Linked DNA regions of Homo sapiens: region 1 is linked to region 2. The links are contacts of gene promoters, found by promoter capture Hi-C in blood cells and fetal thymus (Javierre and others, 2016). All regions are on one chromosome and are shown on one strand. The core of a region is centred on a gene start or on the middle of the fragment in contact, and the rest is flanking DNA. Distances in the headings are between cores, read along the strand shown.

Evidence for each region. The method cuts DNA at HindIII sites, captures the fragments that hold promoters and counts their contacts. A CHiCAGO score of 5 or more calls a contact.
Region 1: a fragment that was not itself captured here is called in contact with the fragment with the promoter of MKRN3 in region 2 in 1 of 17 cell types (M0 macrophages); the score reaches 5.4 in M0 macrophages.

Annotation. Positions count from the first base shown.
Region 1 is chr15:25,971,307-25,975,285 of GRCh38, reverse strand. All of the region lies in intron 1 of LINC02346 (long intergenic non-protein coding RNA 2346), which reads right to left. Among named protein-coding and RNA genes, the nearest start is that of LINC02346, 71 kb to the right of the region's middle. The HindIII fragment of the contact is 4,712 bases long and covers 1-3,979 here.
Region 2 is chr15:23,563,548-23,567,410 of GRCh38, reverse strand. It overlaps MKRN3 (makorin ring finger protein 3), which reads right to left and starts at 1,737. Exons shown (of 1, transcript NM_005664.4): 1 at 1-1,737. The coding sequence starts at 1,628. The coding sequence ends at 105. The HindIII fragment of the contact is 4,614 bases long and covers 1-2,196 here.

The DNA.
Region 1 (3,979 bases), core at 1,098-3,597, 2.4 Mb before region 2:
CAGCTTGATGTCCCCCCTGAGCCCAGCACAGTGGCTACTAGGTTAATAGGGGCCAAAAGAAAAACACCATAAAATAATAACATAACAAGCATGGTAGGCAGGTAGGCAGGCAGGCAGACAGCAAGGAAGTTCTCTCTCCAAACCAAAACCTCCTTAAGGGTGGTTGTATTAGTCATGTTCTCCAGAGACACAACCAATAGGATGGATGGATGGATGGATGGATAGATAGATAAATAGATAGATATGGATATGTGGATGGATTGATAGATGATTGATAGATGATAGATAGATAGATGTGGATGGATGACTAGAGACAGACGGATGGATGGACACATATGAATGGATGGATGAATGAATAGACACAAATAGATAGAAATGGTTGAACAGATGGATAGACAAATAGAGATGGATAGATGGATAAATAGATAATGAGGAATTAGTTCATGTGATTATAGGGCTGAGAAGCCCCACCATCTGCCATCTGCAAACTGGAGACTCAGTAGAGCTAGTATCTAATTTAGCGTCTGAAGGCCTGAGAACCAGGGAAGCCAATGGTGTAACCCCCAGTTCAAGGACAGGAAAAGATGAGATGAAATCTTGCAGTTTAAGCAGTGACGCAGAAAAAAAAGAGGCAAATGTCTCCTCCCTCCCTTTGTTCTACCCAGGTTGTCACCAGGGTGGATGCAGTGCCGCATGTTGGAGACGGTGATCCACTTTACTGAGTCCCCCAGTGTGAATGCTGACTTCATCTCGAAACACCTCACAGACACATCCAGAAACAAGGTTTAATCTGGGCACCCATAGTTCAGTCAAGGCAACACATAAAATTAACCATCACAGCAGTGTCTCTTTTCTATTTTTTGCTTATCTCCACATGGCATTTTGACATAGAAGACACTCAAAAAATACTGACAGACTGAACTCACAGAGGCCTGCGTTCTGCTGTGAAATGGTGTTGCAAGTCCTCTCATGCATCCCAGCAAAGTGAGTTTATACAACAGATGCTCAGGAGGGGCTTGTTGACTGAACAAAGAGAGAGGAGGGAGAGAAGCAGCAGCTCCCCGTTCTAGGCCTGTTGGAGTTCAAGCCAAAGCTGAGAGCACTGCCAAAAACAGTCCTGAGAAGAGAACATCCTGGGTGAAAACCCAGACCTCCAGTCCTCCACACAAACATGTGCCCCACCCTTTGCTATTACTTTATTTTTATAATGGAAGGATAGGGTCTCACTATTTTGCCCAGGCTGGTCTTGAAGTTCTGGCCTTAAGCAATTCTTCCTCAACCCCCTAACCTGCTGGGATTACGAACATGAGCCACACCACGCAGCCGGGTATAGGTTCTTCTCTTTAAGGCAGATAAGTGATTTCTCCCTGCTCCAAAGGTCCTGCTCTTCTTTATCCAAGGGTGAACGATGAACAGCACAAGGCTAGAGACTTACTCCCACCTCACTCCTGGCTTCCCTGTCCCCAGTGTGGCCAGGAAAGACCAAGACCCCTTCTTCATCACAGCTTCAGAAACAACTGGCAAAGTTGCTTTATTCTCCTTAATTTCAACAGCTTTGCTATTTTCGTGGAAGGAGTTCATTCCTTCCAGTGGGTTCTCGCTCCCAACGACTTCAAGAATGAAATCACAGACCTTCTCAGTAAGTGTTACAGCTCTTAAAGACACTGTCTACAGTCTGCTCTTTCACGACGTTCAAATGTCACTGGAGCTTCTTCCCATTGCGTTCATGGTCTCGCTGACTTCAGGAGTGAAGCCACAGACCCTCACAGTGAGTATTACAGCTCTTAAAGGTGGCACATACACAGTTGTTTTTTGCTCCTGGTGGATTCGTGGACTCGCTGACTTCAACAACGATCCTGCACCTCCTCACGGTGAGTATCACTGCTCACAAAAGCAGCACATACCAAAACAGCAATCTACCAAAATTTACTGTGAAGTGCAAAAGAACAGAGCTTCCACAGCGCTGAATGGGACCAATCTGCATGCCGCTGCAGGCTCCGGTGGCCAGCTTTTATTCCCTTATTTGGCCCTGCCCACATCCTGCTGATTGGTCCATTTTACAGCGTGCTGATTGGTCCATTTTACAGAGTGCTAATTGGTGCATTTACAATCCTTTAGCTAGACACAAAAGTTCTCCAAGTCCCCACCCTATCCAGAAGCGCAGCTGGCTTCACCTCTCATTTTGAGGTGAGCTTTTTGACTTGGAGGGACACACACGTTCACCATTCAAGTGTGTCCCCCATAGGCAAGGTACTTTCTCTTCAAGGTAGTCACAATTCCCTCCCCATTTTGAAGAAGAGAAAATAGTGGGATGATTTTCTTAAGAAATCCTTATACTTCTATGCAGTAGGATTCTCTGATGGATGCCAAAGAACCTGAAAGACCCTCTGTGAAATAAGGAGAGTCTCCTCTGGCCCACAGCTGAGTGCTTGTCCTCATCACAGCCCCCAGAGCCAGACTCCCCTGGCCCCTGCTCTCCCACTCGGAGCAACTTAATGCATGGCTCCTTTGACTGCCAGCTTCACGGCTGATAAAGAAGACACCTCTCCACCTGCAGCAAACGCAGAGCAGCACAGCTCGGCTCGCTGGTGAAGTCTCACGCTTCCTGTTAGAGGAGCTTGTTCCATGCCCTGAACGTCTTTCACTGGGTGCTACATGGGACTCGTGCTCATGTTCCACCCTCCTTGGCCTTTTAAGCCATTGAGCATGTAATGTTCTACTCTTGTAATAGTACATTTGGCAGGAGGCATAAACAAAATCACAGACCGTAAGCTACAAAAGAAAAAACAAAAATACTGCTTGAGCTATATCAGATGCTGATGGTGGCCTGCACATTTAGATATCCATGAATCTCAAATGTAGCCTTCTGAATCCTCACCATAAATTTCATCCCTGCTCAGGGAATCTGCTGTAATTTACATCCTATATTATACAGCCCAGGCAAAAGGGGAACTGTGCCTTTGTGTAAGCCCTCAGCACTAACAAAAGGCTTTACTGTGAAAGCCATGCTCCCATTTTTCTTTCAGATTTACATCAACAGTTCTGTCCTAATATTAAGTGGGCTATTTTACACCTTCACAGAGTAAATAGTTGGGCTGGCAACATATACACATTTTTTTCATTTCAGCCTTTATAAGTAAGCGATGTTCACTCAAAAACATATATCTTTGTAGGAAGAGGAAGACAAAGGACTCTGGTTTATTTCTTGGAAAGGAATTCTGACCTTTGCCATCAAGTCTGGCCTGAGAAAGAGAGAGGTATTATCTGGGTCACGAAAGGTTGCATTCTGTTCCTCCTTTCTTCCCCACTACCTCTAGTTGCAGAAAAATGCTTGAAATATCTCTAAAAACATGGCATCATTTATTCTACAATTACATGTTAGTTTAGAAGTGAATATCCTTAAGATAGGTTGCACGTCAGCTGACACTAAAACATTCATGATTAGATTTTTGTCAAAAAGATGGAGAAATGGGATAAACATATTTGCATCTAACCAAATGTACATCCTCCTGGATATTTTAAATCTTCTTTAAATTATTTGCAACACCTAATACAATCTAAATGCTGCGTAAATTGTTGTTATACTGTATTGCTTAGGGAATTATAATAAGAAAAAAGTTTGTACATATTCAGTACAGATACAACCATCCATTTTTTCCTCGAATATTTTTGATTTGGGGTTGGTTGAATCCACAGGGAGGAACCCACAGATATGGAGGGCTGACGGTAGATATATAATGTTTACATGGTTTCCAAGGCACTTACATGGACATTATATAATTTTCTCTTGGGGATTTATACAATCAGCAATACTTAGTTTAAATAGTCTAAATAGCTCATTTGTTTATTTCAAAATATCCCTTTTATGGCCACTTTCCGTGGATGAGTGAGCCCCCTCATTCACCATGCCTCTCTTCTTGTGCTCTAATTCCTGATAATGAGGTCATAAGCTATTCCCTAAGCCAACTGGGTGGGGACA
Region 2 (3,863 bases), core at 488-2,987:
TGCCTCAACAGCCCCTGAAAGCAGTAAGAGTGTCAACACAGGGAAAACAGGCAATAGCAGACGACAGAACCTCAGCAGACTAGACCACATGCCACAGCACGATGCTACAGAATCAAATTGAAATATTCTTCCAGCTCATAATGAAGCAAGTCCCACTGGTCCTCAGAGAAGGGTAACTCATCTCTCAGTGAAAGAAACCGCTTAAACAACAGACTGGCCAGCCGAAGCACGACAAGCTCCTTCTTAATGCTTTTATAGAGCATGTTGCCCTCTCCCATTCGCACAGGCTCCACAAGTTGATGCCAGTATGCGCTGAATGACCCACCACCTGGCCCAGGAGGCTCATCTCCCCAGCCCTCAGGGTATTCATGCTTGTAAAAGCATGTGTCTCCAAATGGGCAGTTACCCCTGCCTTCCGCAAAATACCTGCAGGCCTTGTTGCTCATTGCCTCCTTGTATTGCTGAATAAGTTTCTGCTTCTCTTCCTCCTCCTCCACCCAGAACTCACTGGGAATGACCAATTCAGAGGTGACCCTGCACTGTGGGCAAGACTTGACGATCCTGTTCTCAAACTGTCTGGCACTTCTCCACCTGCGGATACACCTAATACAGAAGGAATGGTTGCAATTGGAAAGAATGCCAAAGCGGCGGTCATTGGGGTTGGCCTTCTCATAGACAACCTCCATGCAGATGCCACACACCTTGTCCATACCACGCTGCACAGCAAACGAGAGTTCCATATCTTTCTCGTGTGCTTCAATGCAGGCCCTCATATGTTCTTCCCTCTGGGCAGCATCCATGGGGTGCAAGGTCTGCAGCCCACACATGTCGCATATGTCTCCATGGAGGTACATACAGCTCTCCCCACGAAAGCAAACTCCCCTGGAAGCATAATAGCAAAACCGCAACCCACTGCCCACAGCCATCTGCTTCCTCTCAGTCTCTGAGCTCTGTAGAGGAGCCTCGGGGGCAGATGCAACCCAGCGGCCCCGGTAGGGCTGCCCTGGAACAAACTCAATGGCATCCGCCCAGCTTTCTACACCTGCTCCTCCAGCAGCTCCACGGTCTGCATTGTCTCTCTCGGCTTCAAAGAAACCCCTTTCAGCAGCCGAGCCAATCACAGGCAAGGAAAGGGAGGATGCAGCCGGGGGGGCTTCCGCCACTTCCTGAGTCGGGGGCTCGATGTGCGCAGCCGTGCTAGGGCCTCCACCTGCAGAGGCCCCAGGCGGCGAAACGCCACCCTCAGTGGCCATCTTCCGACCAGAAAGGTCGTGCGAATAGCGACAGTTCTCCCCCTCCTTGCACTGCCCATGTATATAATACCTGCAGATGATCTGCTTTGTCCAAATGCCGCTGCTTCGGCTTGGCAACGGACTGGGCCAGGCTCCTCCTCCTGAGGCTGGGGCAGGCCTCAGGCCTCCTCTGCGGAGGTGGGCAGGGACTGGAGCTACAGGGAAGGGGGCCCAGCCCCTTGCCGCATGTGGCAGGGCTGAATCTGGAGCAGCAGATTCCCCGGAGGGCTCACAGACGGGAAGGTCCGGCCCAGACACACCCTCCCTTGCTGCCTCAGCACCTGCCTGGGCCCCGGCTGCCTCGTGGGCTTCTGAGGGAGCTGCAGGCTCTTCCATGGCTGCTTTGGCACCCCGAAATGGTGCCAGAACCTCTCCGGTATTTTTTCTTTATGGGCTTGAGGCCCGGAATGGCGGCCGCGCTCGGAGGCTTCTCTGGGGGAAGTGTGCATCTCTTTTTCCTTCCCCCCTGCTTTTGGGTCCCTCTGACTGTGTGTTCCTACCTACTTCCGGGCACAGGCAGCATGGCGGACACTTCCTGTGGGGGCAACGTACGTGCTCTGCCTGGTTTTTACCGCAATTTTCCAATCTGACATATTTTTTCGTTCACACAGGCGGGGACCAACCCAGCCCCTTTTGTCTGCCTTCTGCCTCTGCTTCGCTGTGTTCCGGCAGTCCCTAAGTCCCTTCTCACACGATTTCCTCAGGAGAATGAGGTTTTACTTTAATCTCTTCTGGTTTCGGTCATGCACGCTTCGTTGTATTTTCGTATCTGTCTGCCTTAAAAAAAATATAATCCTATAGATTCTGAAACATTTCATCCATGAATTATATAAATTCTTTTTTTATTCACTCCATCTTATGTCTGTGGTTTTTTTCTTTTAATGCCCGATCGCGGCAGGAAGCTTTTTTCAATTCGTTCGGTTGACAAGGCGCCGTTTCTTTTGGTCTTTGTTTTCTGGGATTTCTGAGGGCTTACACTGGATACGCTTTTCACCAGCAAGGCATTAGCAGAGAGCACTTCTGATCCGAGGCTAAGTTAGCACCTTTCAGATGTCTTTCTTTATTGTGATTACTATGCTCATTTTCCCACTGTGTTAGAAGCGCCAGACTTCAACCAGTCCTGATGCTGGCCTAATAAGACACTGTCCCCTGCATGACCCAGGCTTTTATTTTCTCTACTGGTTTAATTCATGGCAGCCCTTTGTTTCCCTTCCTTTCTTTCAACCCCATCTGTGCTGTGTTGTGGCAGGACAGCCTTTCATAACATATCCTGTGCCATATTATCCACAAAGGAATGGTCTTTAATTTCCATGTATGAGCGTTTTGTCATTTTTGCAGATAAATGTAGTAGATTAATCATTTTTTTGTATTCCTACTTTGCTGAGAGTACGTATCATGACTGCATACTGAATTCTGTTATGTAGTTTTATACATTTTTTGAGACAATTTTGTTTTTCCCTTTATTCTCTTAATGTGATTATTTGCAGCTATGAGTTTCAAATATTTAACTAACCAATTTGTTTCTAATAAGAAGCCCTTCTGTCATGATATATCATTTTATATATTATTGGATTTTTTTTCTATAAGTTTCTTTGAGGAAATTTTGTTGCCTAAATCTGTAAAGTGGAAACATATCTGAATATTTATAATCACCCAAGTCAACAAATTAAATTATAATTAAGTAGGTAAAAGCAATGAAAGCAGAATGAAGCAAATAATAAGGGCAAGAAAAGCAATGAAGAAAAACAAATATTAAATAAGGGAAATAAATTAAGTAAAATCCCTTAAACTGCTTATTGAAGCCAGATAATTTCTGGTGAAATTTATCAAGGAAAAATGAAGAAGGCTCTAATACCCAAGATCAGTAATTTCAAATATGTTATCACTACATTAATAACAGACATTAAAAATCATTAGAGAATATCAGGAACAAAGTTAGGAGATAAAACTTGAAAAGTTACATGAAATAGTCATATTGGTGGAAACATCTATTAGTAAAAATGACAGGAGCAGAAATACATGTGAATATGGATCTGTTAAATTACATCTGTAATTTAGATAATTATCTAAATAAAGGTCTCTAAAACTTTCTCTCTGAAATAAATCTAAAGGCAAAAAAAATCTGTATTTATTATTGCAAGTCCTAGCTAGTGTAATAGCAAAGAAATAAAAGATGTTATAACTGGAAAGAAATTATTGATGGAATGCAACAGAAAATTGAGAATAATTTACAGATAAGCTATTAGATTTAATAGGTACATTTAGCAAGGACACTGGACAGGAGTCCAATATATGAAAATCATTTTTATTTCTCTATCATCAATAACATTTGAAGTAAACATTTAAAATTAATAACATTCATAACAACATTAAAAGTTAGCTAACCTAGGAATTAAACTAATTAAGGTTATACAATAAAATTAAAAACATTTTAGCTTCAGAAGACCTAAATAAATTGTGGGATACTTTATATATAGTCTTTATAGTCGGTCAGTAGAAGGCTCAATGTTTTTAAAAGGTAGTCTTTTCCTAATTTGATAATTATTTGAAAATGGTGCTGATTATTCATCG